Linked DNA regions of Homo sapiens: all the other regions are linked to region 7. The links are contacts of gene promoters, found by promoter capture Hi-C in blood cells and fetal thymus (Javierre and others, 2016). All regions are on one chromosome and are shown on one strand. The core of a region is centred on a gene start or on the middle of the fragment in contact, and the rest is flanking DNA. Distances in the headings are between cores, read along the strand shown. Region 1 overlaps CEP250 (centrosomal protein 250). Region 2 overlaps PHF20 (PHD finger protein 20). Region 3 overlaps CEP250 (centrosomal protein 250). Region 4 overlaps PHF20 (PHD finger protein 20). Region 5 overlaps CEP250 (centrosomal protein 250). Region 6 overlaps PHF20 (PHD finger protein 20). Region 7 holds the start of NFS1 (NFS1 cysteine desulfurase).

The links. The method cuts DNA at HindIII sites, captures the fragments that hold promoters and counts their contacts. A CHiCAGO score of 5 or more calls a contact.
Region 1: a fragment that was not itself captured here is called in contact with the fragment with the promoter of NFS1 in region 7 in 5 of 17 cell types (megakaryocytes, total B cells, naive CD8 T cells and 2 more); the score reaches 7.8 in megakaryocytes.
Region 2: a contact is called between a fragment that was not itself captured here and the fragment with the promoter of NFS1 in region 7, in 1 of 17 cell types (megakaryocytes). The highest score is 5.7, in megakaryocytes.
Region 3: a fragment that was not itself captured here is called in contact with the fragment with the promoter of NFS1 in region 7 in 2 of 17 cell types (erythroblasts and naive B cells); the score reaches 7.4 in erythroblasts.
Region 4: a contact is called between a fragment that was not itself captured here and the fragment with the promoter of NFS1 in region 7, in 5 of 17 cell types (total CD8 T cells, naive CD8 T cells, total B cells and 2 more). The highest score is 6.3, in total CD8 T cells.
Region 5: a contact is called between a fragment that was not itself captured here and the fragment with the promoter of NFS1 in region 7, in 8 of 17 cell types (naive B cells, megakaryocytes, total B cells and 5 more). The highest score is 12.7, in naive B cells.
Region 6: a fragment that was not itself captured here is called in contact with the fragment with the promoter of NFS1 in region 7 in 1 of 17 cell types (endothelial precursors); the score reaches 7.1 in endothelial precursors.

The regions. Positions count from the first base shown.
Region 1 is chr20:35,480,731-35,483,836 of GRCh38, reverse strand. All of the region lies in intron 20 of CEP250 (centrosomal protein 250), which reads right to left. CEP250-AS1 (CEP250 antisense RNA 1) reads left to right here. Exons shown (of 3, transcript NR_184017.1): 2 at 2,586-2,704. Among named protein-coding and RNA genes, the nearest start is that of CEP250-AS1, 8.7 kb to the left of the region's middle. The HindIII fragment of the contact is 7,692 bases long and covers 1-3,106 here.
Region 2 is chr20:35,863,351-35,866,448 of GRCh38, reverse strand. PHF20 (PHD finger protein 20) reads right to left here. Exons shown (of 18, transcript NM_016436.5): 6 at 3,049-3,098. Among named protein-coding and RNA genes, the nearest start is that of SCAND1, 90 kb to the left of the region's middle. The HindIII fragment of the contact is 4,740 bases long and covers 1-3,098 here.
Region 3 is chr20:35,501,835-35,504,743 of GRCh38, reverse strand. CEP250 (centrosomal protein 250) reads right to left here. Exons shown (of 35, transcript NM_007186.6): 29 at 2,778-2,899; 30 at 1-2,354. Among named protein-coding and RNA genes, the nearest start is that of CEP250-AS1, 12 kb to the right of the region's middle. The HindIII fragment of the contact is 9,262 bases long and covers 1-2,909 here.
Region 4 is chr20:35,841,390-35,844,089 of GRCh38, reverse strand. PHF20 (PHD finger protein 20) reads right to left here. Exons shown (of 18, transcript NM_016436.5): 3 at 1,346-1,517. Among named protein-coding and RNA genes, the nearest start is that of PHF20, 71 kb to the right of the region's middle. The HindIII fragment of the contact is 4,081 bases long and covers 1-2,700 here.
Region 5 is chr20:35,461,703-35,464,407 of GRCh38, reverse strand. CEP250 (centrosomal protein 250) reads right to left here. Exons shown (of 35, transcript NM_007186.6): 4 at 1,855-2,143; 5 at 777-833. The coding sequence starts at 2,040. Among named protein-coding and RNA genes, the nearest start is that of CEP250, 7.5 kb to the right of the region's middle. RefSeq lists a silencer at 411-590. The HindIII fragment of the contact is 6,904 bases long and covers 1-2,705 here.
Region 6 is chr20:35,931,796-35,934,777 of GRCh38, reverse strand. The region is part of intron 15 of PHF20 (PHD finger protein 20); the gene reads right to left. Among named protein-coding and RNA genes, the nearest start is that of SCAND1, 21 kb to the left of the region's middle. The HindIII fragment of the contact is 6,632 bases long and covers 1-2,982 here.
Region 7 is chr20:35,697,890-35,700,779 of GRCh38, reverse strand. It overlaps NFS1 (NFS1 cysteine desulfurase), which reads left to right and starts at 1,428. Exons shown (of 13, transcript NM_021100.5): 1 at 1,428-1,588; 2 at 2,190-2,299. The coding sequence starts at 1,492. ROMO1 (reactive oxygen species modulator 1) reads right to left here and starts at 1,375. Exons shown (of 3, transcript NM_080748.3): 1 at 1,324-1,375; 2 at 1,017-1,147. The coding sequence starts at 1,147. RefSeq lists enhancers at 751-970, 542-1,201, 1,202-1,861 and a silencer at 1,461-1,650. The HindIII fragment of the contact is 3,611 bases long and covers 1-2,313 here.

The sequences.
Region 1 (3,106 bases), core at 113-2,612, 220 kb after region 7:
CAGTAACTAGATGAGAGATCTGAAAAAAATAATCCAGAACACAGCATACAAAGAGAAAAGTAAACATGTAAAATGCAAGAGGCAGTGAAGATACATGAAGGATAGAGTAAAAAGGTCTGACATACAACTAACCAGAGTACAGAAAGAGAGAAGAAAGTAGGAAAAGAGCCAGGTATGGTGGCGTGCACCTGTAGTCCCAGCTTATGTGGGAGGCTGAGGCAAGAGGACAGCTTGAGCCCAGGAGTTCGAGACCAGCCTGGATAACATAGCAAGACCCATCTCTAAAAAAAAAAAAAATTAAAATTAAAATTAAAAAATTAGCTGGGCATGGTGGCATGTGCCTGTAGTTGCAGTTCGTCGGAGGCTGCGGCAGGAGGACTCACTTGAGCTCAGGAGTTTGAGGCTGCAGTGAGCTATGATTGTATCATTATACTCCAGCCTGGGTAACAGAGCAAGACCCTGTCTCTAAAAAATAAAATAAAATAAATTTAAAAAAAAAAATTTTTTTTTTTTTTTGAGACGGAGTTTCGTTCTTGTTGCCCAGGCTGGAGTGTAATGGCGCGATCTCAGCTCATCGCAACCTCCACCTCCCAGGTTCAAGCGATTCTCCTGCCTCAGCCTCCCTAATAGCTAGGATTACAGACATGTGCTACCACACTCGGCTAATTTTGTATATTTAGTAGAGACGGGGTTTCTCCATGTTGGTCAGGCTGGTCTCGAACTCCTGACCTCAGGTGATCCGCCCACCTCAGCCTCCCAAATTACTGAGATTACAGGCATGAGCCACTGCAATTGGCCAAAAAAAAATTTATTTTAAAGAGTAAATAAATAAAAGCAGGACAGTAGGAAAGAGGTAATATTGAAGAGATAATATATAAGAATTTTCCAGAATTGATATTTCAACATGAAATCTTAAATTCAGGATGTCTAAGAAATTCCAACCAAATAAAAGAAATACACATCTAAACACAAGAAATTGCCAGGCGTGGTCTCACGCCTTTAATCCCAGCCCTTTGGGAGGCCGAGGTGGGTGGATCACTTGAGCCCAGGAGTTTGAGACCAGCCTGGGCAACATGGTGAAACCCCATCTCTACTAAAAATACAAAAAAATTAGCTGGGCATGGTGGTACGTGCCTGTAATCCCAGCTACTCTAGAGGCTGAGGCAGAAGAACTGCATGAACTCAAGAGGTGGAAGTTACAGTGAGCCGAGATTGCACCACTGCACTCAAGCCTGGGTGACAGAGCAAGACTCTGTCTCAAAAAAATAAAAAATAAAAAAAAATATAAAAAAATAAATAGCCGGGCACGGTGGCTCACGCCTGTAATCCCAGCACTTTGGGAGGCCGAGGCGGGTGGATCATGAGGTCAGGAGATCGAGACCATCCTGGCTAACACGGTGAATACAAAAAATTTTTGTATTTACTAAAAATACAAAAAATTAGCCGGGCATGGTGGTGAGCGCCTGTGGTCTCAGCTACTTGGGAGGCTGAGGCAGGAGAATGGCGTGAACCCAGAGGCGGACCTTGCAGTGAGCCAAGATTGCGCCACTGCACTCCAGCCTGGGCAACAGAGCGAGACTCCGTCTCAAAAAACAAACAAACAAAAAAATAATAATAAACACAAGAAACTGTGGAATGATTAAAATGAAAGCTAACTTCTCAATACCAACAATGTTGAGAGAAAATAATTGTCATCCTAGAAACTTATATCTGAATGTTTTACTTAGTGAATCTATCTATCTATCTATCTATCTATCTATCTATCTATCTATCTATCTATCTATCTATTTTTTAAGCCTGAACAAAGCCAGAAACTATCTTTCAAGAATAAAAGTAGGCTGGACATGGTGGCTCACCTCTGTAATCCCAACACTTTGGGAGGCCAAGGGCGGGTGGATCGCTTGAGCCCAGGAGTTTGAGACCAGCCTGGGCAACATGGTGAAACCCTGTCTCTACCAAAAATAAAATTAGCTGGGTGTGATGGCATATGCCTATAATCCCAGCTACTTGGGAGGCTGAGGTGGGAGGATCACCTGAGCCCAGGAGGCCAAGGCTGCAGTAGGCCATGATCACATGACTGCACTCCAGTCTAGGCGACAGAGTGAGACCCTGCCTCAATAAAAGAATAAAAATAAAATAGAAACATCTTCAGACAATTAACTACCAACAGACCCTTACCAAAGAAAATCCTACTTCAGGCAAAAAAAAAAAAAAAAAATCTGAATAGAAAGTCTGACATGCAAGAAGGTATGGTGAACAGAAAAGGTATCAATTCGTTGTATCTGAACAAATATTGACTGTATAAAACAATAAAAAAATCATAATTTGTGGTGTTAAACTAGTTAGAACTGAACACACTGAACAAAATAGCCTATAAATTAGGGAGCAGTGAAACAAGTAAAATGTTCTTTTTTGCTTTTGAGACAGGGTCTCACTCTGTCACTCAGGCTGGAGTGCAGTGGTGCTCAGCTCACCACAGCCTCAACCTCCTAGGCTCAAGTGATCCTCCCACCTCAGCCTCCCAAGTAGCTGGGACTACAGTGTGTACCACCATGCCTGGCTAATTTTTGTATTTTTTTTTGTAGGGAATGGGGTTTCGCCGTGTTGTCCAGGCTGGTCTCAAACTCCTGGGCTCAAGCAATCTGCCCACCTCAGCCTCCCAAAGTGCTGAGATGACAGGCATGAGCCACTGTCCCTGGCCCAGGTAAAATGTTCTAAGACCCTTGTATCGTTCAGGAAAAGGGTAAAACTACTGAACCTTGAGATTTTATTAAGTATATGTTTAAAAATATTAAAGGTAACCACTAACAGGATTTTTAAAATAAAGTATATATCATCCACAGTTGCAGAGAGAAAAAAGAGGTGAGAAAAGAATACAACTTAATCACCCAACTTAATCCTCTAAAAGAAGTTAAGAAAGGAGATTTCCCCTCCCTAAAAGATATAAAAATGGCCAGGCACAGTGGCTCACAGCTGTACCCTGCACTTTAGGAGGCTGAGGCAGGTGGATCACGAGGTCAGTTTGAGACCAGCCTGGCCAACATGGTGAAACCCCATCTCTACTAAAAATACAAAAATTAGCCAGATGTGGTGGCACACACCTGTA
Region 2 (3,098 bases), core at 560-3,059, 170 kb before region 7:
CCCCATCTGAACAGAGATATATTTTCTCTGTTTTCCTAAGGGTGGTATACAGCTAGTACCATTCTCAATGCACTAAGGTCAATCCATCACAGATCAAGGATGCCTTGGGTATTGTGGCTTCTCTCCCAAAACTCAGTTGAGAAAGCCAGTGAACATAAAGTCAGTGCTGTCCAACAGAAATATACTAAGAGTGCAAGCCACATGTAATTTTATTTTATTTTATTATTTTTTGTTTTTTTGAGATGGAGTCTCGCTCTGTCACCCAAGCTGGAGAGCAGTGGTGCGATATCGGCTCACTGTAACCTCTGCCTCCTGGGTTCAAGAGATTCTCCTGCCTCAGCCTCCCAAGTAGGTGGGATTACAGGTGCATGCCACCACGCTCATCTAATTTTTGTGTTGTTAGTAGAGATGGGGGTTTCACCATGTTGGCCAGGCTGGTCTCGAACTCCTGACCTCAGGTGACCCACCCATGTTGGTCTCCCAGAATGCTGGGATTACAGGCATGAACCACCATGCCCGGCCAATTTTTGTATTTTTAGTGGAGACGGGATTTCACCATGTTGGCCAGCCTGGTCTCAAATTCCTGAGCCACCACGCCTGGCCAATTTTGAATTTTTTACTCATCACATAAGAGGGTTTGGTTTTTAAGTGCCAGGCATGGTGGCTCATGCCTGTAATCTCAGCACTTTCAGAGGCCAAGGCAGGATTGCTTGCTTGAGGCCCAGAGATTGAGACAAACCTGGGCAACATAGTGAAACCCTGTCTCTACAAGAAATAAATTAGCTGGGCATGGTGGCATGTGCCTGTAGTCCCAGCTACTCAGGAGGCTGAGATAGGAGCATCGCTTGAGCCTAGGAGGTGGAGAATGGAGTGAGCCACAATCACGCCACTGCACTCCAGCCTAGGTAACAGAGTGAGACCCTGTCAAAAAAAAAAAAAAAAAAAAAAAAACACAACTTAAAAAGTTAATTTAAATACTATTTTATTTAATCCAGTACTTTAAAAAAAATTTTTTTTTTAAACTGGGCTCAGCAACCTTCCTGCCTCAGACTCTGGAATCGCTGGGACTACAAGCACGTGCCACCACTCTCAGCCAATTTTTTCATTTTTTGTAGAGATGAGGTCTCACTATGTTGCCAAGGCTGGTCTCGAACTTCTGGACTCAAGTGATCCTCCCTCATCAGCCTCCCAAAGTGCTGGCATGATTACAGGGATGAGGCACTGCACCCAGCCTCTAAAAACATTTCAACATGGAATCAATTTTTTTTTGTTTTGTCGCCCAAGCTGGAATGCAGTGGCCCGATCTCAGCTCACTGCAACCTCCGCCTCCTGGGTTTCAAGCAATTCTCTTGCCTCAGCCTCCTGAGTAGCTGGGATTACAGGCACCCACCACCAAGCCTGGCTAATTTGTCTTTATATTTTTTCAGTAGAGACGGGGTTTCACCATGTTGGCCAGGCTGGTCTCAAACTCCTAACCTCAAGTAATCCACCCGCCTGGACCTCCCAAACCACTGAGATTACAGGCCCAGCCGTAATCAGTATTTTAAAATCGAGGTGTGTTACATTCTTTTTTTGAACTAAGTATTTGAAATCTAGCATTTACTTACACTTACAGCATATCTCAATTCAGACTAGCTACATTTCAAGTAGTCAATAGCCCCATGCAGCTAGTGGCTACCATACTAGACAGCAGAGGTCTAGGCCCTATTTAGGCCTACAGACAATTGCAGCACCCTCAGCTCTTGAGGGCAAAACCCAGTTACAAGCACTACAGGGAAAGATCCCTTATTTCATATAGAGACAAATCAACCTATTATATAATTTCCTATCTTACAATGAGTACTAATACACTTATGTGAAGTAAGTTAAATTTTTTTCCACAGAAATTAAGTCTGATAGTCTGATTTGATAAGGAAGACTGGCTTTGCATTCTCTACATCGTTAGGGAATAATGAAAAGGTTTGCTCTGTAGTTCCACAGTTTTGATGAAAATATTTGTGTGTGTGTGTGTGTGTGTGTGTGTGTGTGTGTGTGTGTGTGTTTTGAGATGGGGTGTCACTACATTGTCCAGGCTGGTTTGGAATTCTTGGGCTCAAGCAATCCTCCCACCTCAGCCTCCTGAGTAGCTGGGACAACAAACATGCACCAACGCACTCAGCCTTCATGTTTTGTATTTTAAATGTATCCACTGCAGCTATTTAAACTTGTGAGAAAAAGATAAATACTGCTTTAAAACGTGCTAGGGGATTCACAGTTTTTCAACTGAACACATAAAGAATGCACAATCAAGAATGTCTGAAGGTCACTGCACATATTAATCAATGGCAGGCTCAGTCCAGAGAACCGGGGGGGCCTCTTCATGCCATTGAATTGATTTGGAGAACGAGTGTTTGGCTTAGGAAGAAATCAGGGCTTGTTTCATTCTTGGTTATTCTAGAAGAATTCCAAATTTTAAGTTTTTTAATAACTGCATTCTTCCCTAAATCTATACCCTCTAACCTTGACTCTTACCAATTAGCCATCTCGGCTTTTTATTTAGACTGTGAAAATTTCTAATCAATAATCACTCTCCAAGGAGCTCAATTTCAAAATGCACCCATGCTTTTCTAGTTTCAATGTTCCTTTGTCCCCATCTCCTTCAGAAGCCCATACCTTTTTACTATTACTTTTCTTTCATGTCTGTCTCATTAAAACTCTATTTCCTGATTCTAGATTCTATTAAGCTGACTTAAACTGAGATCATTTGAAAAAGCATAAGCAAAAGGCCTCGGTTTATCAGGTTTTATCATATAAGCTGAAGTATCTAGTCAACAGTTAACCACTACTTTAGCAAACTCAGTTATGAACATGCTTCCCAACTTAGATTCACTTGGATATGTACCTCACTTAAATTCAGCTTCATGAACACAACTTGTTTCCAGATCATAAGACAATTCAAAATCAGTCACAAAAATAAACGATTGACGTACACAAGTTACAAAGAACCACAAAGGGCCACAGAAGAATACTCTGGCATTGCCCATTGCAGAGCCCACTTAAAAAACTCACCAGTAGGAGCTATGGAAGGGGGTCTGCCTCGTTTTCTTTTGGGTTCCCTC
Region 3 (2,909 bases), core at 185-2,684, 200 kb after region 7:
AAGGCTTCCAGGTTGTTCCTTTGCTGGGTCTCCCTCAGCTCCAGAATCTCCTGTTCCTTTTGGGCTAGAGTCAGCTGTAGCTCCCTTACACTCTGATGAAGGCCCCTTATCTCCTCCTCTTCTCTCTCTTGCCCCAGATTCTGCTTCTCTTGGATCATATTCTCTTGGACCCTCTGGGCCAGAGACTTCTCCAGCAGCTGCTCCCGTTCCTGCTGATGTCTCAGCTCTTCATCCCTCTGGGCAAGTGCCTGCTGCAGCTGCTGCACATCCTCCTGGTATCGGAGATCCTGGTCCTGGATCTCACCTTCTTGTATCCTCAGAGCCTCCTCCAGCTGCCGACTGTGTGCCTGGCAGGCATCCAGGGAGGCTTGCAGGGTTGCAGTGCTGGCCTCCAGACTGCGGCTCAATTCTGCCTGCTCGAGGAGATGCTGCTCTTTCCCCTGCAGGGCAGCATGAGCCTTGCCAAGGGCCTCCTGCAGAGCCTCAGCCCGGGCCCGGGCAGCCTCCTCCTGATGCCGGGAGGACTGACTTTCTGCCCGCAGAGCTTCCAGCTCCTGGTCCCGTTCCTTGAGCACTGCCTGGGCCTGCAGCCAGCTGTCCTGCAGGGCCCTGGTCTCCACCTCATGCTCCTGTGCCTGCTCAGCACACTGCTGCTGGAGGGCCAACAGAGCTTTCTCCTGTTCCCGAGACTCAGCCCTTAGGTCTCCCAGCACCTCCTCCAGGGCCTGGACCCGCCGTCCCTCCACTGCCAGCTCTTCCTCCAGCCTTCGTGCCTGTTCCTTGTGGTCCTGAAGCTCTCCATGACGCTCCTTCAGTGTCATATGGGCTTGCTCCAGAGCTCCCTGGAGGGCGTCTGCCTTTTCCTTCACCCTCTCCTCCTGTCCCTGGGCCTGCTGCTGTTCTTGCTGCAGAGCCTCCAGTTCCTGGTCCCTCTGGGCTAGGGCTCTCTGGGCCTCATCCAGTTGACTCTGAAGTGACTGCTCCTTCAGCTCCCCTTGTTCCCTGGCTTCCTGCAGTTGCTGCTGCAGGACCACTATTTCCTGCTCTCGCTGGGACAGGAGGAGGCTGGTCTCACCTACCTTCCTGTGCAGGCCCTGGAGCTGCTGCTCCAGCTGGTCTTTGAGCTCCTGGAGTTCATGGATATGCTCCTGCTGACATTCCACCTCCTTCTCCTTATCACGCAGGATCAGCTTCATGTGCTCTAGGCTCCCGCGCTGTGCTTTACTTGGGCCCTTCCCTTCCTCTGCCCGTTCCTGCATCAGCTGCCTCTGAGTGGTCAGCTCCCGGCCTCGCTCTCTCAAGGACAGCTTGATCTGTTCCAGGTCCTCCTCCAGGATCTTGGTCTGCCGGGTCCTCTGATCCTCGAGAACCTGAATCCTCTCCTTCTGCAGCATCAGCTCCTGGTCTCTCCTCTCGAGATCCTGAGTCAGATGCTCTTTCTGCCTCTGCAGCTCCTCGATCTGTTCTCGCTGAGACTTCACCTCCTGGTCCCTCTCCTGCAGCTCTCTTGCCAGAACGGTGCTGTGGCTCTCCAGGTCATGGATCTGGCTGCTTTGTGCCTGCAGCTCCTGGCTCCTTTCTTCTAGGTCCAGCGTAAGGTGGGTCAAAGCCACTCTCTGGGTTTCCCTCTGGCCCTCCAGCTCCTTGATCAGTTTTTGCTGGCACTCCATCTTGTGATGGTTTTCCTCCAGTTCCAGGGCCAGGCATTCCAGAGTAACCAACTGCTTTTTCAGGTCCTGAACCTGTCCTCTCTGGGACTCAATCATTTGGTCTTTCTTCTCAAGTTCTAGAAGCTGATGCTCCAAGACGTTCCTCTGAGTCTCCCGATCCTTCTCGAGCTCTCTGATCTGCTCCCTCTGCACAGTCAGCTTCTGCTCTCGCTCCTGGACGGCCATGGGCAGATGCTCTAAAACAGACCTACACTTCTCTAGCTCCTGAATCTGTTCTTGCTGCAGATCTACCTCTTGGTTCCTCTTCTTCAGGTCCAGAGACAGCAATTCCAAAGCAGCCTTCTGCATTTCCCGTTGCTTCTCCAGTTCCTGGATTTGTCCCCGCAGAGTCTCCACCTCCTCTTCTCTTTCAGCTAGGGTCTGGGTCAGGAGGGCCAAATTCTCTTGCAGAGCCTTCCCTTGGGCCACCTTCAGTTCGCCCTGCTCTTGCAGAGCCTGGGCTCTCTCACGCTCACTCTCTACTTCCTCATTTTTCAGCTTCAGTGCTGAGCGAGCCGTTCTCAGGTCTTCTTCCAGGATGCCAGCAGCACTTGCCTGAGCCCTGGCTTCTACGACAGCTGCTTGCAGGTGTTCCACCTGGGCTGTCAGGTTCTCCTTGGCTGCCTGAAGTAACTCTCGCTCACCCTAGAAGACAAGATGAAAAGCCACTTTAGACTACACTTCCCTGCTACTGTCACCCCAACACCGACCCTTCTCTTTCTTATTTTGTGGCACTAGCAGTGATAAGGACTTGGGCAAAAAAAAGTGGTGGTATATTCCACTTAAGCTGATACTGTAAAAGGGCATCCCTACCACCTTCCAGGACTCTGCTATGCCCAGGGGAGACGCTGGTCCTTCAGGACAAGGGGCAAAAATATCAACCTCAATTCAGAAAAAGCAATTGAAGGAGGATTCATTGGAACCTGAATAATGGCCCCCAGGGACATGGAGACAGCCAGAGGAACTGACAGACTTGCTGAAGGAAGTGGGACACAGGACCACAGGCCAAGGTGGGCCCAAGGGACTACTCCTGAGGCAAACCCCTCCCTGAAACCAGTACCACTTTACCTGGGCTTCCATTCGCTGTAGCTCTGCTCTCCGCAGGCGACTCTGTAAGGATGCCATAGTTTCATGTAGTTCCATCAGCTCAGATTCTAGGGAGTTCTGCTTTCCTTCCCACTTAGATTTCTCTTTGAGAAG
Region 4 (2,700 bases), core at 27-2,526, 140 kb before region 7:
ACTTGCTTGAGCCCGCTCCCACTCTGTGGAGTGTACTTTCATTTCAATAAATCTGTGCTTTCACTGCTTAAAACAAAACAAAACAAAAAAACCTTAAAACTAATACTTCATACTGCATTTTGAAGTCAGTAAAAGCTCCAGGCATAGAGATAAAATTTAGAAAAATGGAATACAGTCCAATCAATTCCAAGTTCTTTAAGGGCTTATAAAAGACTCTGCAGGACGAGCTTACACCTATAATCCTAGCACTGTGGGAGACCAAGGCGGGAGGATCACTTGAGCCCGGAGTTCAAGACCAGCCTGGGCAACAATACGAGACACTGTCTCTATAAAAAAATTTAAAAATTAGCCGGGTGTGGTGGGCCCGTGGTCCCAGCTACTTGGGAAGTTGAAGTGGAAAGATCGCTTGAGCCTGGGAGATTGAGGCTGCAGTGAGCCATGATTGCACCACTGCATTCCCGTCTGGGCAACAGAGCAAGACCCTGTCTCAAAAGAAGAAGACCTTGCATATGAGACTTAGTACAACGTTCTACATGGAATGATCACTTTTTTTTTTTTTTTTTTTTTTGAGATGGAATATCACTCTGTCACCCGGGCTGGAGTGGAGTGGCATGATCATCTTGGCTCACTGCAACCTCCGCCTCCTGGGTTCAAGCGATTCTCCTGCCTCAGCCTCCCGAGTAGCTGGTATTACAGGCGCCCGCCACTATATCCAGCTAATTTTTTGTATTTTTAGTAGAGGTGGGGTTTCACCATGTTGGCCAGGCTGGTCTCAAACTCCCGATCTTGTGATTTGCCTGTCTCCGCCTCCCAAAGTGCTGGGATTACAGGTGTGAGCCACCACGCCTGGCCAGAATGATCACTTAACAAAAGACCAGACAGCTTAACAAAAGATCAGAAGATCTACAATGTGCCAGGCAGTGTTCTAGAAGTTAGGGATACAATGCCGTAAAATTGGTCAGGAGTTTGAGACCAGCCTGGCCAAGATGGCAAAACCCCATCTCTACTAAAAATACAAAAATTAGCCAGGGTGGGCACCTGTAATCCCAGCTACTAGGGAGGCTGAGGCACGAGAATCGCTTGAACCCGAGAGGTGGAGACTGCAGTGAGCAGAGACTGCACCACTGCACTCCAGCCTGGGCAACACAGCGAGACTCCGTCTCAAAAAACAAACAAACAAAATTGGGATTCTTCAAGAGCCCCAGGTGTCATAGAGATCTCAGGGTTACAACTATAGGCCTAAATAAGAACTGGTCTCCAGCTGCTACTAACATCAAAGATTGAAACACAAACAGCCCAATGGCTGACCTTGCATACTACAGAACTTCCCAGATTTGTTACTCACAGAAGATCCATCCTCTTCATGCAAGCCCTCTTTCCTCAGCTGTATTTTCTCTAAAGGGCGTAAATAAGGACTGTCCCAGCAGAACCACTCATCATAACGATGGTTCCAACGCTTGAAATGGATGAGTACTTTTCCTTCCTCGTAGTCAATGTCTTCTATGTGAGCTGGATACCTGAGTCAGAAAAAAAAAAATTGGCATTCCTTTAATACCCACCCCAAATATCCAAATATCCATAATGGTACATTTCCAAACCTCTTCCCAAAGGAGAAGGTTACCAGGCCTACCGTTTAGAGACTCTGTGTAGTTGGGTCAAATCACAAATTATGGAGGGTAACAGACTTGAGGTCCAAATCCTAACCTGCATATTCCTTAGTTTATGAACTATTTTATTTTATTTTATTTTTGAGACAGAGTCTCGCTCTGTCACCCAGGCTGGAGTGCAGTGGTGTGATCTTGGCTCACCGCAACCTCCTGGGTTCAAGCAATTCTCCCTGCCTCAGCCTCCCGAGTAGCGGGGATTACAGCGCCCGCCACCATGCCCAGCTAATTTTTGTATTTTTAGTAGAGATGGGGTTTCGCCATGTTGGCCAGGCTGGTCTCGAACTCCCGACCTTAGGTGATCTGCCCGCCTCAACCTCCCAGAGTGCTGAGATTACAAGGGTGAACCACTGTGCCCGGCCAGTTTATGAACCATTAAATTAAACTTTCAGAGCCTGAGTTCCCTCATGTAAAGTGGAAGAAGCACACTGGGTTGTAGTGTGGATTAAACAAGATGACATACACAGAAGACTTGAGCACACAAGAGGCAGGAAGAAAACATTAAGGATTTAACAACTAGATTAGATTTTACATGTGCCAATAAATCAGAATGACCATGCAACCCAGACTGTATCAGACAGTCTCAATTTTAAGCATTTATAAGCAATATAATGGAATACTGTGCAGTTTTTTTGGTTGTTGTTTGTTTGTTTTTTTGAGACAGGGTCTCGCTCTGTCGCTATGCTGGAGGGCAGTGGCGCGATCTCAGCTCTCTGCAACCTCCACCTCCCTGATTCAAGTGATTCTCCTGCCTCAGCTTCCTGAGTATCTGGGACTACAGGTACGTGCCACCACACCCAGCTAATTTTTGTATTTTTAGTAGAAACGGGATTTCACCATGTTGGCCAGGATGGTCTCGATCTCTTGACCTCATGATCCGCCCACCTCAGCCTCCCAAAGTGCTAGCATTACAGGCATGAGCCACCGTGCCCAGCCTTATACTACGCGGTTATTAAAAAGAACAAGATGATTTTATCTGTCAAGATATGGAAAGCTCTTCTAAGATATACAGTTATATGATTCAGAACACTGTATA
Region 5 (2,705 bases), core at 118-2,617, 240 kb after region 7:
AAGCCCAGGAGGCTGAGGCTGCAGTGACTCATGACTGCACCAGTCCACTCCAGCCTGGGCGACAGAGTAAGTAGGACCCTGTCTCAAAACAACCAACCAACCAAACAAACAAAAACCAACCAAACAAGCAAGCAAAACAACCCCAAACAATGGGTTTATCCAGCTGTAACCCCATCATAACCCAAGGAACATACTGAATGCATATAGCTTTCACATCATCATAAAGTTGAAAACTTGCAACCATCCTAAGTTGGGGAGGACCATCTGTATATGACAGTGCCTCATGCTGCCTGGACTGCATTGAGGGTGCTCAATAAGTTTTGGTTCTTTCCTTCCTCTGAGAGAACTTTTCTGAGGAAAATGTGAGGAGGTACTGAGAGGCAGCTGGAACAAAGGCAAATAAATGGGTTTTTCAAAGCCAGTTCTAATAGCACAGACATCCCTTTGCTGCAGACATGCTGTAGGCTCGCAAAGGCCTGCATCTTTCTAAAAGAAACACTGACACCTGCTGGAGGAAACATGCACTTCTTCCTGCTAATCCCACACTCCTTCCAATCTAATTTACATTTCGTCCTTTGAAAACCAAGGGTTGGAATCTGACAGGCCAGCTAGGTCCAATGAAGATATCAGTGTGATAAACCTCTCAGAGGCTGAGAAAGAGAGCCTTCCACCAAACACCTCACTTGTACACTCCAACCTCCCTCAGTCAACAAATGAAACCTAACAAGTATATTCACTGAGGACCCAGGGGGTGCAGAGAGCTCAGCCTCACTCACTCCAGTGGCTTCTAGCCGCTTCTCCAGCTCTTGGCACCAGCTTCGGTACTGCAGCACCTGCAGCAAAAAGAACAGGCCCTGGGCAATGAACACAGCTGGCACAAACAGCCCAAAGCAAAGGCCCCTGAGGATCTTAGGCAAACTTGCTATGAACAGGGGAAATGGGTGGTGACAGTAAGGTAAGGCCATAACATCTTATAGTTTCTATTTGGGCATTTTTTTCTTTTTTGAGATGGAGTCTCGCTCTGTGTCCCAGGCTGGAGTGCAGTGGCACAATCTTGGCTCACTGCAACCTCCGCTTCCCAGATTGAAGTGATTCTTCTAACTCAGCCTCCCGAGTAGCTGGGATTACAGGCATGCGCCACCACACTCAGCTAATTTTTGTATTTTTAGTAGAGACAGGGTTTTGCCATGTTGGCCAGGCTGGTCTCAAACTCCTGACCTCAGGTGATACACCTGCCTCGGCCTCCCAAAATTCTGGGATTACAGGCATGGGCCACCGTGCCTGGCCTTATTTGGGCATTTAAATAATACTTTCTATATGAGCGAGACTCTGTCTCAAAAATAAATAAATAAATAAATAAATACTTTCTATATGCCTTTTATATCACAGAGGCAAGATCATGGGCTTTGGCTCTAGACTAGCTGAAGAAACCTGGATAATTAACTTAACCCTTGTGAATTTCATCTTTAAAGAGATATATTAGCCAAAAGTGGTGGTGTACACCTGTGGTCCCAGATACTCCAGAGGCTGAGGCAGGAGGACTGCCTGAGCCCAGGAGGTTGAGGCTGCAGCGATCTGTGATCATACCACTGCACTCTAGCCTGGGCAACAGAGCAAAACCCTATCTCAAAAATAAAATTAAATTAAAAGGATATAATACGTACCTCATGGAGCAGTTGTGAGCATCAAAAGAGAAGCTGTACATGAAAGCTAGAAGGTCTGGGTCTTATCTCACCATGCTAGATGTAGGCCACTCCCACCACAAGACTCTGCCTCCTGCAACCCTTATCTCACCTCAGCACCTAGCTCTGGGGGTTGTTCTCTTTCCCCTCCCCAAAAGGGCAGCTGCCTCACCTTGGCCTGCAGCTTCCTCACAAGGGTTGCTTGTCTCTGCTGGGCCTCCTGGGAGTTCTTCAGCTTCCGCCAGGAGGCTGCCTGATTCTCTGCCATCTGCTGCTGTAGTGCCAGCACCTGCTCTTCCAGTACCAGCTGCAGTGACTGGGGCTTCATGTTGTTCAACCCAGGGCTTCTTGTCTCCATGAGGGCACCAGGTGGTAGGCCCACAGGTCCCTAGGTAGCCAGAGGGTGTTCACGCCCAGCAGGGTCTCTAACCATTGCCATGCCACTTCAACCTCCTCTTGAACTGGGGACCAAAGCACATAGTCAAATGGAAAGGACTGTTCTTTTACTACACACAAGACTCCTCAGAACCTTTAAAATACTAAAAGGGACCCTCATCTCTGAAGGGCGCTATGATGAGCATCATTCCCCAAATTTAACTGACCATGAGACAAGCTCACAGGACTAGTGTCTCCTGGCATGACTTTTGGAACTCTGCACTAAACCAAGAGCTCCTGGTTTATCACTGCATCCTTAGTTCCTGGCACAGTGGTTCAGAAACATTTGTTGAATGAATCGCTGAAGGTGTTCTTAGTCTAGCAGGGGAAATAGACACAAACTATTACAATACATACAATGTAGCATGTGAAATAATAAGATAATATGAGAAAACAAAGGAAGAGAACCCAGCCTGGGAGCCTGTGAACTGTGTGAATCATCATCATCATTGTTAACACTTGCTGAGTGCTTCTGGAGGGCTGTTGCTTTAAGTGCTTTACATGCATTACGTCATTTTGTTTTTACAAAAATCTTGAAACCTTCCAATGCCTTCTCATTACACTTCACCAAACGTACTATTATAACTC
Region 6 (2,982 bases), core at 206-2,705, 230 kb before region 7:
ATTGCCCCAGCATCCAACCTCTCCTCCTTTTATCCCCACCCCCACCCCTACTTCTAAGTATAAGCAGGGCCTGTGGCCACCTGCCCAGCCTGCCCTGCCATTAGGCCTGTCCATGAAACTATTTGCCCTCCCTCTTCTTTCTCTCTTTTCCCCCTCCTGGGGACTGGGGTAGAGCTGAAATGCAGGTGAAACTGCTTCAACCATGCAAATGGGGGGTATCCCAAGAGAATGCCAGAGCAATAAGACAAAAGGAACCTAAGACCATGCAGATAAGGGGAACCCTAAGAGAATGCTGGAGCCGTAAGACAGAAGGAAACAAAGTTCCCAACCCAACGGATGGAATCCTGGAGAAAGGTCTCCTACCTAGCCTAGATCCCTGCCTAGCCTTGAACCATTCATTTATATGAGAAAGAAACTTCTGTTTTGTTTGAGCCTCTATGTGGGGGGTCCTTGTTATAGCACCTCAGCTTTTACCCAAACCAACGCAGACCCAATGTTCCCTCCTCCACCACCTTTGTCACGCAGATCTTGAAGCCAGGCCTCTGTGTGCCAGAGAGCACAAGAGGAAGCAGATTCCCATCTCACCATCTCAGGGTCCTGATACTCCACTCTGCCTGACACCAGGCCTCCTCTAGGCCTGATCAGCACAAAGGAAATCCTATCCAGGAGCAGCCTATCAAGTCTTAACTCACTCATCGCACTAGTCTGCCACTGTTTACAACTTAAATAAAAGCAGTCCCTGACACAGACTATACTAAAACCAAAAGAAAGCTCACAAGGTCATGCAGTATCACATAGAGAGACAGTTCGAAAAGTACCTGACAGAGCCAGGATTTGGATTCTAGTCCAGGCTCCACCCATGGAAACCATGGAAGAGGCCTACCCCACTCAAGGCCCTGTTGCTGTATTTGGTAAAGTAGGGTAGGTTATAACAGCCAAGAGACCGACCGGGCACAGTGGCCCACGCCTGTTATCACAGCACTTTGGGAGGCCGAGATGGGCAGATCAGTTGAGGCCAGGAGCTCGAGACCAGCCTGGCCAACATGGTGAAACCCCATCTCTACTAAAAATACAAAAATTAGGCCAGGCGCAGTGGCTCATGCCTGTAATCTCAGCACTTTGGGAGGCTGAGGCAGGTGGATCGCAAGGTCAGTAGATCGAGACCATCCTGGCTAACACGGTGAAACACTGTATCTACTAAAAATACAAAAAAATTAGCCGGGCGTGGTGGCAGGCGCCTGTAGTCCCAGCTACTCGGGAGGCTGAGGCAGGAGAATGGCGTGAACCCAGGAGGCAGAGCTTGCAGTAAGCCAAGATCATGCCACTGGACTCCAGCCTGGGTGACAGAGCGAGACTCGGTCTCAAAAAAAAAAAAAAATTATCCAGGTGTGGTGGCATGTGCCTGTAATCCTAGCAACTCAGGAGTTTAAGGCAGGAGAATCGCTTGAACCCAGGAGGTGGAGGTAGCAGTGAGCCAAGATCACGCCACTGCACTCCAGCCTGGGTGACAGAGCGAGGCTCTGTCTCAGAAAAAAAAAAAAAAGAATGAGCTGAGTTGCTTGAGCCCAGGAGCTTGAGGCTGCAGTGCTTGATGATCGCACCTGTGAGTAGCCACTGCACTTCAGCCTGGGAAATAAAGCAAGACTCCATCTCTTGTTAAAAAAAAAAAAAAGGAATATTTAGCATGAAAGGGATAAACAAAATGTGGCATACACATAAAACAAGTTATTACTCAGCCTTAAAAAGGGAGGAAATTCTTACATATGCTATAACACGGATGAACTTTGAGGACACTATGCTAAGTGAAATAAGCCAGTCACAAAAAGACAAACACTATATGACTCCACTTACATGAGGTCTCTAGAGAAGTCAAATTCAGAGAGGCAGAAAGTAGAATACTGGTTGTCAGGGGCTTTGGGGAAAGGGAAATGGAGAGCTGTTGGTAAAGGGTATAGAACTTCAGTTTCACAAGGGTTTTAGAGACTGGTTGTAAAACAACATGAATGACAACTGTGCAGAGCTGTACACTTAAAAATGGTTAAGATGGGGCCGGGTGCAGTGGCTCACACCTGTAATCCCAGAAATTTCGGAGGCCGAGGTGGGTGGATCACCTGAGGTCAGGAGTTTAAGGCCAGCCTGGCCAACATGGTGAAACCCTGTCTCTACTAAAAATACAAAAATTAGCCGGGTGTGGTGGCGTGCGCCTGTATTCCCAGCTACTCAGGAGGCTGAGGCAGGAGAATCACTTGAATCTGGGAGGCAGAAGTTGCAGTGAGCCGAGATCACACCACTGCACTCCAGCCTGGGCGACAGAGCGAGACTCTGTCTCAAAAAAAAAAAAAAAAAAAATGGTTAAGATGGTAAATTTTATATTATGTATATCTTACAGCAATTAAAAACAAATAACTCAGCCAGGTACAGTGGCTCGTGCCTGTAATCCCAGCACTTTGGGAGCCCGAGGTGGGTGGATCACTTGAGGTCAGGAGTTCAAGACCAGCCTGGCCAACATGGTAAAACCCTATATCTACAGAAAACACAAAAAATTAGCCAGGCATGGTGGCATGCGCCTGTAGTCCCAACTACTTGGGAGGCTGAAGTGGGAGAATCGCTTGAACCCAGGAGGTGGAGGCTGCAGTGAGCCATGATCTCACCACTGCACTCCAGCCTGGGTGACAGAGTGAGACTCCATCTCAAAAAAAAAAAAAAACACTCAGAACTGTATGCCAAAACAAAAAACAAACCAAAATACACACACCATGTATTGATTCTGGTGGTGGCTTCACGGCTGCATACAATGTCAAAATTCAATGAACTCTTTTTTTTTTTGAGACGGAGTTTCGCTCTTATTGCCCAGGCTGGAGTGCAATGGCACGATCTCAGCTCACCACAACCTCCGCCTCCCGGGTTCAAGCGATGCTCCCGCCTCAGCCTCCCAAGTAGCTGAGATTACAGGCGCACACCAGCACGCCTAGCTAATTTTTG
Region 7 (2,890 bases), core at 179-2,678:
TGGAGCTATTTGGTAACAAAAATATCAGAAAGAGTATTAACTGCTCCTTTCCAATTTTTTGCTAACACTAGTCTAGCAACCCCTACATCTGATTTTCCACTTACTGGATATTATATCTTACTACCTGGGGTGGGTAATGAGAAGGAAAAAGATCCATCTGGGTCTCCAGGGTATTTTTCTGGTGGATGTCGTATTAACTGCCTTCAGTTTGTGGGAGGCAGCAGATGCAGTGTAAAATACATAGAGAAACCAGCTTTTTTGACTGGTGTTGCCTGCAGTTTAAGACCCAATAAAGACATCTGTCTTTTAGTTTCTTGGTGTTAATGATTTTGGAGTAAGGTGGGGGTTCAAGAGTCAGCTCTACAATTTACACATAGTGTCAAGTGTAAAATGGGCATCTCAACATTATTTACAGGATTTTGAAAACTACAGTATTTAGCACAGTGCTTAACATAGAGTAAGTGCTCTGTAAATGATAATTTACAATCTAGGGATATGGCAATAACAGCCTCTAAATGTGAAAATGACCTTTAGAGTGTAAAGTTTAACTGCTTTATCTCTGTATCCTGTATCCAGAATAGTAAAACCGCTGAACGAGTTTCTTTCCTTATGCGCAATTGGAAAAAAAAATAAAAGCAACAGTAGTAACTAGTTACTGAGCACTTAATATGTGCCAGATGCTGTGCAAAGTGTGCTGATCGAATTTTTACAACTCTATAAGTTAGATGCTACTGTCTTCATTCTACACTTAAGGAAACCCAGTCTCCAACTTGCCTAAAGTCACCGAACCAGTAAGAAAAGGGCCAGAAAGCATTTTGACTCTAAAGCTCAAATTCTTAAGCACTGACGCTTCCAACCTGACTTTACAGATTGAAGGTGGTTTGGAATGAGTCTGGCTCGCGAGGGGACAGAGAGGGAAGTCGAAAGAAGGAGGCTGTGTTCAGGCTCCAGGCCGAATGGGGCAGGGCCGGAAGGTCTGGTTGTCCTGCCCAGAGATCACCGCCCGCGCCCCTCACCTGAGACAGGAAAAGGTGCCGAAGAGCGCCCCGGCCGCCATGCCCACGGCGCAACCCATCACGAAGCCCATTTTGACACGGTCGAAGCAGCTTGGCTGGGACTGTCCGTAGGGACCCACGGCCACCGGCATCTGCGGGGGATAGGAAAGTGTGGGCCCAGGCGCTGGCCCAAGAGTCGGGCGGGGACGGAAGCGGTAGGCTGGGAAGTGGGCCCAAGGGCTCAGGGGAAGTAAGGGAAGGAAAATCAGTGGGTAGCCCGACTCCACCACCCTCTTCGCGTTCCGGCCCCGCGTCGCCCGGCGCCTACCTCACCTCGCTCGCGGGCTGGGTCGCTCAGCTCTACGTCTCTCACGGAAAACGACGGGGAGGGCGCTCGCGGCCCGATGAATCGCTTCCGGAGCGCCGGGCAGCACTTCCGGGAGCCTGGGGCCCAGGACTGCAGCGGCTTCGGAAGGTGGGCTCTGCCAGCGGGACCATGCTGCTCCGAGCCGCTTGGAGGCGGGCGGCAGTGGCGGTGACAGCGGCTCCAGGGCCGAAGCCCGCGGCGCCCACTCGGGGGCTGCGCCTGCGCGGTACGCTCGGGTCCCGCTCTCCGGGAGGCGCGGACCTGTCCCCTCCGCGCGGCGACGCAACTGAATATTCCGGAGCCTTCCTGTCCACCCTGCTGCCCAGACCCTCTGACCCTTCTCTCAAATGACACATCCCTCAAACTTTCTTAGGCGGGTCCCCGAACGGTTGACCCCGGCGCACCACCCCTCGCACCCTGCGCGACAGGCCCCCAGAGCCGTGGAGGCGCGTCCTTCAGACCGCTCCTGGCCAAGTTACAGATGCTGCTCCGGGCTCCCGTGCAGACCGTTACCTTCGGTCAGAAGGGACTGCACCTACTCTGGCTCCACGTTCCTTCTAAACGTCTTTGCCCTTTAGAGCCTTCCTTCCTACGATACCATTTGAATATCAACTCAACACCCCCTCCAGGAACCCTCTCTCCCTCTCCCTTACCTCCTTTTACAGCGTGTCAGGTATCTGGTGTTGTTTTCTTTCCATTGAGATTCGACCCTAGCATCCCTTACACTTATCTCACCTCCAGCCAGATTTTTCCTTCTGCCCTTTGGATGCCATGCGTTCATAGTTGCCTTCGGTCTTACTTGGCTACTCCGTTCCATTTTTTATCAGTTGGAGACCGTGCTCCTCAGTCTGCGGTTCCCGCAGATACAGCCGCTGCCCCGGAGGTGGGGCCAGTGCTGCGACCTCTCTATATGGATGTGCAAGCTACAACTCCTCTGGTAAGGATGAAGCTTTTCCCAAGGCTGCTTATAGGAAGTAAATGATGGGCGTGATCACGCAAAGAAATGGCTGAATCCCTGGAGAAGTGAGAGCCGTGAAGGTGTGCTGGAAAAAGCACTGAGCGAGGAGTCGGGAGGCTTAAATTCGAGGCCACTGGCATTGGCTTTACTACTCACTAGCAATTGACCTTGGTCAGATCACTTCAGCGCAGGCTCTATAGTATTAGTTAAAAGCATGGGCTCTGGAATGAGCAGAACGGCCACTTAGTAACTGTGTGAACTTGGACAAGTATTAAACGGGTTAAAAGACTAATGCAAGTTTTCACCAATGTGTGACCAGGGGTGTTTGCCTAGGCCCTGTCCTGTCCCAGCCCCTTATAGATCACATTACCTGGCAGGAATGGAAACACCAGCAGAAACAGATGTCGGAACAAGGCAGTGTTTGTAGACTACCTGAGGGGAGGCAGAACAATCCGAGTTGGGATGGGTTGTGAGTGGGAGTGTATTAGGTTGATATTTGGTGGGTAGTTTTGTGGGAACAAAAGAATGTTTGAGGCCTCCTCTAGGCAGTGCCTGAGGGGTTGAGAGTGT